Linked DNA regions of Homo sapiens: region 2 is linked to region 1. Evidence: promoter capture Hi-C in 16 types of primary human blood cells and fetal thymus (Javierre and others, 2016). All regions are on one chromosome and are shown on one strand. The core of a region is centred on a gene start or on the middle of the fragment in contact, and the rest is flanking DNA. Distances in the headings are between cores, read along the strand shown.

Region 1 (5,216 bases), core at 480-2,979:
CAGGTTTTATTTGTGTGTGTGAAAGAAGCTAGTGATTAACCGTAGCTAGTGATAAACCTGTGTGGGGACTGGTTGACAGGAAGTTGGGATTTGAAGTACAAATGGGCATTTGCCATCGGTTAAGGGTATCAAGGGCATTTAAAAAAAAAACTAATAACATTTAAATGCAAAACAGGCATATTTAGTTTTGGTTTATCCAGGGAGAAGCACAGTGTAGTGGAAAAAGCTGCAGCATGACCACTGGAACTCCCAGTTTTGTCCTCTGTGAAATGAGGGGGTTAAGGCCTCTCAGATGTGGACTCAAAATACATTTGAGATACATGGAAATCATTGATCACAGCTTAGTAGATTTGGGAAACATCATCCTTTCTTTAGGATCCTTGGCTGTGCATGAGATAAAACGGACCAAGCGTGGCCGAAGAATCACGCACTAACAGAGTTCTGTGAGCTGCAGTAACAAGGTAACAATAAAAGTTGCTATTTATTTACAGAAAGGCAGTCCAGTGAAGTGGTTAGGAGCAGGTTTCTATTGTTGGGTGTGTTCAAATCCCACCTCTAACAGTTCCCTCTGACTTTGGGCAAATTACTTAACCTTGTTCCTCCTCTGTAAATGGAGAAAAGAATGGTACTTCTCTTGCTGGGTGTTGTCTAGAGAAAAGGAATTAATGTATGTAAACTACATTAAAGTAATGCCTGACAAACATTTTTACTATCACTCACTAGCATCTTCAGATTTAACTCTCTTCATAGAGATGTTAGAGGATAGTTTTGAAAAATGAAGAAACGTGCCGTTAAGTCTTTTAGATTGTTAGCAGAACTGAGACTCCATAAGACCTCTGCTTCCAAACTCTGCAGAAAAGAAAAAGGCCGGGCGCGGTGGCTCACTCCTATAATCCCAGCACTTTGGGAGGCCGAGGCGGGTGGACCACGAGGTCAGGAGTTCGAAACCAGCCTGGCCAACATAGTGAAACCCGTCTCTACTAAAAATACAAAAAATTACCCGGGCGTGGTGGCGCACGCCTGTAGTCCCAACTACTCGGAAAGCTGAGGCAGGAGAATCGCTTGAACCCGGGAGGCGGAGGCTGCAGTGAGCCGAGATCGCGCCACCGCACTCCAGCTTGGGCGACAGAGCAAGACTTCGTCTCAAAAATAAATAAATAAATAAATAAAAGTCACCCAAGGCGGGAGGGATGTTCCTGAAGACGAACGTCGCCCCATCTGAGGGAGCACTACAGCCCCAAGGTCAATACCCCAGCAGTCCTTCGATTTGCAGGCACTGGGGGTATCCACGACCCCCAGTGGTCACCACTGCACCCACGTGCAACTAGAGGGCGAGGGTGCGCTCCAGGCCAGTGAGTGACTTAGGAGCTGTGGCTGCTCCACAGAGATGCTAGCTGGGATCTAACACTCCCTTCTCTCCCATCCCTCCCCTCCTTCCCTAGGCTAAAGCCGCGGATACCTCCGAGAGGGCAGCGGCAGCTGACAGAGCCGGAGCCTCCCACCCCAGGATACACCAAAATCTGCAGCGCCTGCAGGAGAACTCGATTCGAGGGCCGAAATGCAGCAGCCATACTGTCTCGGACCATACCAACTACTGGAACCGGGGCGAGGAGGCGGAGCGTCGGTCCTGTCGTCGAGAGCGACAAAAGGGATTCGTCCAATTCTGGGCGCCCCGAGAGGTCGAGCTGTAACCCCGCCCCTTCCTCTGTCCGTAACCCGTTGGCTGTTCCTTTTGGTACGCTCCAAGATGGCTGCCTCCATAGTGCGGCGCGGGATGCTCCTGGCGCGGCAAGTGGTTCTTCCTCAGCTCTCTCCTGCAGGTTGGCCGGACAGCTTCATTAGGCCCCTGATTATTCTGTTTTTTGGGTGAAGGGAGCGGTGGGCTTTCAAGAGGAGAGGAAACGTTTCTGGAATCTGATTGCTAGGGACGCCATTTGGGGTGTTTGGTAGTGCAGAAGAAGGAGACAAGGTATCTGATCCATTTCCTTCCCTAAAATAACAGTATGTTCCTGTCCAAAGGTACGAAGAGCAGTGGAAGGTTATATAGCATGAGGGAATTTGCGTATGATTCGCCAGATTTATGTGTTGGGGTGGTCGTGCTTTTGCTGACCACGAAAAACCCAAATGTGCGCCGGGCGCGGTGGCCCACGCCTGTGGTCCCAGCACTTTGGGAACGCGAGGCGGGCGGATCGCCAGGAGTTCGAGACCAGCCTGGCCAACAGGGCGAAACCCCATCTCTACTAAAAAATACAAAGAAATTATCTGGGCCTGGTGGCGCGCGCCTGTAATCCCAGCTACTCGGGGGGCTGAGGCAGGATAATCGCTTGAACTCGGGAGGCGGAGGTTGCAGTGAGCAGAGATCGCGCCACTACACTCCAGCCTGGGCAACAGAGCGAGACCCTGTCTCAAAAAAAAAAAAAAAAAAAAAAAAGGAAAAACCTAAATGTGTCCATTCCTGGGGCTGGGACATTTTTCTCCCATCTGAGGTTTCTTTAGAGGGACGTCAGATAAACATTTTTCCCACCACCACACATTTAGCTGGACCCCTGGTCTTCGTGGAAGAATTTTTCAGTATTAATCTCATTTTATCTGATGACCTAGAGCACAACTTTTGATTGACCTTTCTTTGCTATAGTTTTCCACGTGTAGATAATAAATGCTATTAGTTACTTGTAAAATACTTTGATATCTGAACTAAATGGCAGCCCACTCAAAGCCTGCATAGTGGATCTGATAATGAAAACATTGGAAAAAAGTTTTAAAGTATTTATAGAAGCCAAATTTGCAGTGATTCTAACCACATAATCCAGACAGACATATTTGATAAAAATGCAATAATCACACTCGATTTTTCCATTGCCGCTTATCTTCCCTTTCCAACCTACCTCCCATCCTCTATTTTTTTAAAAAGCACGCACTTCTTTAGGAACAGCCATTAAACGTCAATGTGAAACCTCAGAGTTGGCCACCAGTTTTCTGAAGATTAAGTGGCTGACCTGGTGAAAACGTTTAATGTCACACATTAGGCAGTGTTATGCACAACGCTTGACACCTTAGTAAGAATTAGCTGTTGTAGCTATTTTCTGTTTATGTGGTTTCCGTGAACAACTACACACAGAGGGCATTTTGGGAGACCTGTCTTTCCCCACAATCACCTCCCCAGCCTTTTTTTTTTTTTTCGGGTTTCGTTCTTGTTGCCCAGGTTAGAGTGCAATGGCACGATCTCGGCTTACTGCAGCCTCTGCCTCCCGGGTTCAAGTGATTCTCCTGCCTCAGCCTCCCGAGTAGCTGAGATTACAGGCATGCGCCACCACTCCCGGCTAATTTTGTATTTTCAGTAGAGACGGGGTTTCTCCATGTTGGTCAGGCTGGTCTCTAACTCCTGACCTCAGGTGATCCACCCGCCTCTACTTCCCAAGGTGCTGGGATTACGGGCGTGAGCCACTGTGCCCAGCTGGCCCAGCTTTTTAATCTCCCAGTTCAGAACTCTTGAGCAATGATCTAGATATTGTCCTGACTCCAGAATGTAGAAAGGTGATTACTTATGCTAGAATGAAGCATATGCTAGAATGAAGGCATAGAGAATAACAGATAATAAATAGAGAGTAAGCAAGTAGCTGGTATGCGGGAGTACAGTTGGCTTCCTTATCCGAGCATTCTGCATCTGCAGAGTCAACCAACAGCGGATCAAAATACTACAAAACAAAACAAAAACTAACAATAAAAAATAATACAACAGTAAAATAATACAAAGAAAATACAACATGACAACCACTTACATTGCGTTTACATTGTGTTAGGTATTATAAGTAATCTACAAATGACTTAAAGCAGCTTGTCCAACCCTCAGCCCAGGACAGTTTTGAATGTGGCCCAACACAAATTTGTAAACTTAACTAAAATATTAGGAGATTTTTAGCATTTTTTGTTTTGTTTGTTTGCCCATCAGCTATCATTAGTGTTAGTGTAGTTTATGTATGTGTGGCCCAAGACAATTGTTCTTCTTCCAATGTGACCAGGGAAGCCAAAAAAATGGACACCCCAGCTTAAAGTAATGCAGGAGGATGTTTGTGGGTTATTTGCAAATACTGTGCAATTTTATGTAAGAGACTTCTGCATTCTCAGATTTTGGTATTTGAGGGGGTATTCTAGAACCATCCCCCTGGGGCAGGAGAATTGCTTGAACCCTGGAGGCAAAGGTTGCAGTGAGCCAAGATCATGCCACTACACTCCAGCCTGGGCAACAGAGAGATACTCCATCTCAAAAAAATAATAATAATAAATAAAATTAGGCCGGGTGTGGTGGCTCACACCTGTAATCCCAGCACTTTGGGAGGCTGAGGTGGGTGGATCACCTGAGGTCAGGAGTTTGAGACCAGCCTGGCCAACATGGAGAAACCCTGTCTCTATTAAAAATACAAAATTAGGCGTGGTGGCGCATGCCTGAAATCCCAGCTACTCAGGAGGCTGAGGCAGGAGAATCGCTTGAACCTGGAAGGCCTCCGCCTTCCGGTTGCAGTGAGCTGAGATCATGCCATTGCACTCCAGCCTGGGCAACAAGAGCGAAACTCCATTTCCAAAACGAAAAAATAAATGGAAATTAATTTAAATAATTATAGTCTTTTCTTAGTTCTCCTTTTGAAAGCGTCTTTGGAAACCTTATTGTTGCCTCATTATTTAATTTGTAGAACTCAAATTTAGATATATTATTCTAGTAAAGATCTGTGTTCACAGTAAGAGAATGAACTGTGTATAAATTCACACAGATGTGTTTGTATTTGTTTATTTGTTTGAGCTGGAAAGTAGGTAGAGAATAAAAACAGCATTCCAATACTGTGTTTAATCAGCCCCCATGCTATCTAGTTGTGTTGGGCTTTTGGTCTGCTGTGACCTCAGCATAATTATCTGTCATTTTTTCTGTTTGTTTTTTTTTTTTTTTGAGACGGAGTTTCGCTCTTATTGCCCAGGTTGGAATGCAATGGCGTGATCTCGGCTCACCACAACCTCCACCTCCTGGCTTCAAGGGATTCTCTTGCCTCAGCCTCCCAAGTACCTGGGATTACAGGCATGCACCACCACGCCTGGCTAATTTTGTATTTTTAGTAGAGGCAAGGTTTCTCCATGTTGGTCAGGCTCGCCTCGAACTCCCGACCTCAGGTGATCCGCCCACCTCGGCCTCCCAAAGTGCTGGGATTACAGGCATGAGCCACTGCACC
Region 2 (5,216 bases), core at 1,806-4,305, 6.8 Mb after region 1:
ACAAGAAATGCATGTAAAATTTTGATGGATATTATCATACAAAGTGATTGTTCCACCAACAGTGCAAGCCTCTTATTTCACATGCTTGCCAGTATTATCTCTTACCAATTTTACATTATTGCCATTCTGAATGAAAATTAATGCTTGTTTAATTTGGATTTTCATAAATTATATATGAGCTTATGAATGTACTTTTTCTGTATTTAAAAGGTATTTGTTTTTTCTTTGAATTCCTCATTTGTGTTCTTTGCCAGTTTCTATTGAATTGTTTTTGTTGTTTACCTTTTTATTGTAAAAATGCAGACACAAAATAAACGTAAAGTTTACTAATTATTATGAGGTGAACACCCTTACCATCATGCTAGTCAAAAAATAAAACTTTGATAATTACCTCAGAAATCTCTCCATTTGGCCCATCCCAGCCACAACCCTTTTCCCCCTTCCACTCTTCCTCCAAAGTAATTGGTAACCTGACTTTTTTGGTAATCTTTTTTAAATTTTTTTTAATGGTGAGTTGTTTGGTTTCTTCTTATGAATTTGTAGGCACTTGTTATATATTAAGGAAATTAGGTCTTGGGTTGCCATATATATTACAAGTATTTCTCCTAGGTTTGGGGGTTTTAAATTTTAACTTTGTTGATGAGATGTTTGTCCATGCAGAATTAAAAAAAAAATTTTGGTGTAAAGATTTTACTTAGTTTTGCTTAGAAAGGTGTTTCCTAATCTAAGATTTTAAAAGTTTCTGTGTTTTCATCCTATTTTTTTGTGATTTCTATTTTGGGTTTTTTGAGGGAGTGAGGAATGACATAAAGATTCAGGTATGAATTTAGACTTATTTTTTTCTCCGCAAATACTATAAATGTTAAAAAAAAATGAGGAAGATTTATATGGACCAAAATATACATTTAAAAAACAGTATTATATATAAAATATATATCTATTTGGATTATTTTTTTCTCCTTGATTTGCCTTGTCATCTCTGTCATGTGTCATGTGTCCATATGTATGTGAATATAGAAAGTCAAGAAAGGCTTTGTATTGTGTTCCATTGCTCAATTTGCCTATTTATGTGCCAGTTCTACATTGCCATAATAGTGTAGGGTATGTCCTCCCATCTTATTTTTCATGAGGATCTTAGGCTAGTTTTGGCCCTTTGTGCTTCCATGTAAATTTTTTTTTTTTTTTTTTTCTGAGACGGAGTCTCGCTCTGTCGCCCAGGCTGGAGTGCAGTGGCGGGATCTCGGCTCACTGCAAGCTCCGCCTCCCGGGTTCACGCCATTCTCCTGCCTCAGCCTCCCAAGTAGCTGGGACTACAGGCGCCCGCCACTACGCCCGGCTAATTTTTTGTATTTTTAGTAGAGACGGGGTTTCACCCTTTTAGCCGGGATGGTCTCGATCTCCTGACCTCGTGATCCGCCCGCCTCGGCCTCCCAAAGTGCTGGGATTACAGGCGTGAGCCACCGCGCCCGGCCCTTCCATGTAAATTTTACAATTTGCTTGTCAAGTCCCATAAAGAGAAACAAAAACTTTCAGGATTTTGGTTAAGATTCAGTAGCTCAACTTGGGGGAGAATTAACGTCTTTACAATGTGGGTCTTTCAGTCCATGAATATGAAGTATCTTTCCATTTATTTAGGTCTGCCTTAGAACTTCTCTGTTAATAAGTTATTGATTAAGCAGTATAAAATGCAGAAGTTCCATATGAATAAAGATATTGAGGAGGGGTATTCTGATTTGCGTTTGATGTGGGGTAGACATCCTCATCATTCTTTATTGCACTGTCTACCTCCTTAAAATTGCCCAGTTTTGAATCTTATGCCACCAGACTCTAATCCTCTTCCATTCTTTGCAGGAATCATCTAGCAAGATTGTTTTACTCACCCTCATTCCTTGAAGATTTTTAGCTCCTGGCTCATTGCCCTTTGCAGTACTACTATCATAATTCTTAGTGATTTTAATATCCTTATAGATGATCCAATAACTTGGCCTCTCTTTTTCTTGACCTTCTTTCCCCTAGTGATTATGTTCTCTCTTGTCTTAGCTACTTATTCCTATGGCCATTCTTTCACTTTGTCCCTGTCTGTACCTGTGGTGCTACACCATAGAAGAAAACATACAACCATGCTCTGGTTTTACTTTAAACTCATGATACTAATCTCAGGTGAGCCTGTAATGCTACTACTGAATAATCCTGTAACTTTATCCTCTCCCATTTTTTTATATATCTGTTTTATACATCTCTTTTCCTGTGCTCTTAAACTCGCAGTACTTTCTTCCCATCCTTTCATAGCTGATAACCGTAGTTACCATTTTACGGAGAAAAGAGAAACAATCCACATAGAATTTCTACAAGTTCCTAGCAACACGTCTACTTACCTACCTGCATCTACACTCTTGATATTCTGATGACCCTCCCATTAAAATGGATGAACTGCATGTCCATTTATCTTAAGCCAACACCTCTACTTATGTACTAGATCCCATTCTTTCTTCTCCCCTTTCTCTCTTGTATTAGCAACATTTCCTTCTTTTACTGTACCGTATAAAGATGCTATATTTTCTCCCATCTTTAAAAAAGAAAAAGTCTCTTTTAACCCTATATCTCCCTCCAGCTACTAACTGTATTTCTCTCTTGTGCTTTAAAGAAAAAAAAATGTGTGTGTGTGTGTTTTCTTTTTGTTTGTTTTGTTTGTTTGTTTTTGGTATGGTCTTAACGGTCTTGCTTTGTCACCCAGGGTGGAGTGCAGTTGTGTGATTGTGGCTCACTGCAGCCTCAGTCTCCTGGGTTCACCGGGCTCAAGTGATCCTCTCACCTCAGCTCCTGAATACCTTGGAATACAGGCATGTGCTGCCATGCCTGGCTAGAGAAAACGTTCTTGAAAACGTTTCATATACTTAATATTTTTAATTCCTTGCCTTCCATTCTTTCTTGAATCCACTCCAATCAGATTTTTATTCTTGCCATTCTTCTAAAACTACTCCTATGAAGGTTATCTGTGGCCTTCATTTTTGTATGTTTACTCCAAGAAAATTGTTGTGATAAATTACCCCAGAATGTAGAGGTGTAAAACAACTATTTATTACGCTCATGAGTTTTGTGCATTAGAAATTCAGACAAGACACAGCAGGAGCAGCTTCTCTGTTCCACAGTATCTGGAGCCTTGGCTAGAAGATCAAAGCCTAGGGGCTTAATTGTCAGAAATGATCGTGTGTATGTCTGGGAGTTGATACCAGCGTTTGTCTGGGAACCTCAGTTCCTTTCCTCATGGACTTTATGTTGATCTCTTCCTTTTGTGCTACTTTGGGCTTTCGCATAACATGGTGCCTGGGTTGCAAGGGTGAGTGTTCCAAGACACAGAAAGCCAGAAGTTAGCTATATTGCCTTTTATGACTTAGTCTTGAAAGTCATGTGGTGTCATTTTCATTGTATTCTCTTTATAAAGACAGCCACAAAGTCACACTCAGTTTCAGGGGGAGAGGAAAAAGACTCTGTCTCTTGATGGGGAATGATGAAATATTGCTGTGAGTATTTTTAGAAAAAACAGTTTGCTCCTCTATATTACTAAATAAATTGTCAATTCTCTGTAATTTACTTGACCTGTCTCCAGTGTTTGACAGTTATCATTCCTTCCTTGAATACATTCTTGGATTTCAGGGTATCATGCTCTTGATTTTCCTCTTAACTTACTGAGTGCTCCTTCTCAGACTATTCAGTTGGTTCTTACCTCAATAGCTCCTGGCCTGAAGATCTTCTCATTTCTAGCTGCACACTCTTCCTTTTCTTATTTCACCTATCCTCACAACTGTAAGTACAGTCATGTGTCACTTAACAACGGGGATATGTGTTGAGAAATGCATTGTTAGATGATTTCATCATGTGAGCACAAACCTAGATGGTATAACCTACTACATACCTAGGCTGAATACCGTAGGTAATTGTAACAGAATGGTATTTTTGTATTTAAACATTTCTAAACATAGAAACGGTACAGTAAAAAAAATGGTATGAAAGACAAAAAGTGGAACACCTGTCTAGGGCTTTTACCATGAATGTAGCTTATAGGACTAGAAGTTGCTCTAGATGAGTCAGTGAGTTGTGAGAAGATATGAAGGCCTAGGACATTACTGTACCCTACTGTAGACTTTGTAAATACTGTACACTTAGGCTATACTAAATTTATTTTTTTAATTATTCAATAATAAATTAACCTTAGCTTGCTGTAAGTTTTTTGCTTTATCTTTTTAATTTTTTAACATATCAACTCTTTCATAAAAACAGCTTAAAACATAAACATGTTGTATAACTGTGCAACAATATTTTCTTTCTTTTTTTATTTTCTAATTTAGAGACAGAGTTTGTCTCTGTCACCCAGGCTGAAATGCAGTGGTGTGATCATAGCTTACTATAACCTTGAACTCCTGGACTCAAGCGATCTTCCTGCCCCTGCCTCCTGAGCAGCTTGGGCTACAGGACTGGGCCACCTCACCCAGCTAATTTTTAAAATTTTTTTATAGAGATAGGGGTCTTACTTTGTTGCCAGGCTGTTCTGGAACTCCTGAACTCAAGTGATCCTACGACCTTGGCCTCCCAAAGTGTTGTGATTACAGGTGTGAGTCACTGCACCTGGCATATTTTATGTCTTTTTTTCTAGCTAATTTATTTATTTTTATTTTTTACTTTTTTAATTTCTTTGTTAAGAACGAAGACACAAACACATTAGCCTAGGCCTAAGGCAAGGTCAGGATCATCAAGACATCAGTAGGCAATAGGAATTTTTCAGCTCCATTGGAACCACTGTTATATGTGCAGTCTGTGATTGACCAAAATGTCATTATGTAGTGTGTAAGTCTTATCTGTGTGATGATGGCTGTCAAATTCATATTGCTAGCTCAAAACTTTGCTTTCAACTGCAGACATGTATATCTAATTGCTTAATCAGCAGCTCCAATAATTGACACCTCAAATGTAGCATATCCTAAACTGAGTTTTTAATCAGCACTTCTCCCATGTTTGCCAAATCTGTTTCTTTTACCATCTTTCTCACCTCAGTAACTGGCAACGTAATAATTCACTTCTCTCTGACAGTCCATATACATGCTGTTAAGAAATTCTGTTGGCTCCATCTTGAAAATATATCCAGAATGGGACATTCTGTGCTGCTTCTATCAATATTATCCTGGTCTACATCTTGCTTGGGTCATTGCAGTAGCTTTCTA

What was found. The method cuts DNA at HindIII sites, captures the fragments that hold promoters and counts their contacts. A CHiCAGO score of 5 or more calls a contact.
Region 2: a contact is called between a fragment that was not itself captured here and the fragment with the promoter of MRPS27 in region 1, in 1 of 17 cell types (total CD4 T cells). The highest score is 8.0, in total CD4 T cells.

Annotation. Positions count from the first base shown.
Region 1 is chr5:72,316,753-72,321,968 of GRCh38, reverse strand. It overlaps MRPS27 (mitochondrial ribosomal protein S27), which reads left to right and starts at 1,729. Exons shown (of 11, transcript NM_015084.3): 1 at 1,729-1,820. The coding sequence starts at 1,748. It overlaps PTCD2 (pentatricopeptide repeat domain 2), which reads right to left and starts at 1,596. Exons shown (of 10, transcript NM_024754.5): 1 at 1,460-1,596. The coding sequence starts at 1,586. RefSeq lists enhancers at 1,398-1,607, 1,668-1,997, 1,596-2,136, 2,137-2,678. The HindIII fragment of the contact is 19,626 bases long and covers 1-5,216 here.
Region 2 is chr5:65,555,604-65,560,819 of GRCh38, reverse strand. All of the region lies in intron 2 of CENPK (centromere protein K), which reads left to right. Among named protein-coding and RNA genes, the nearest start is that of CENPK, 5.0 kb to the left of the region's middle. RefSeq lists an enhancer at 867-1,366. The HindIII fragment of the contact is 8,637 bases long and covers 1-5,216 here.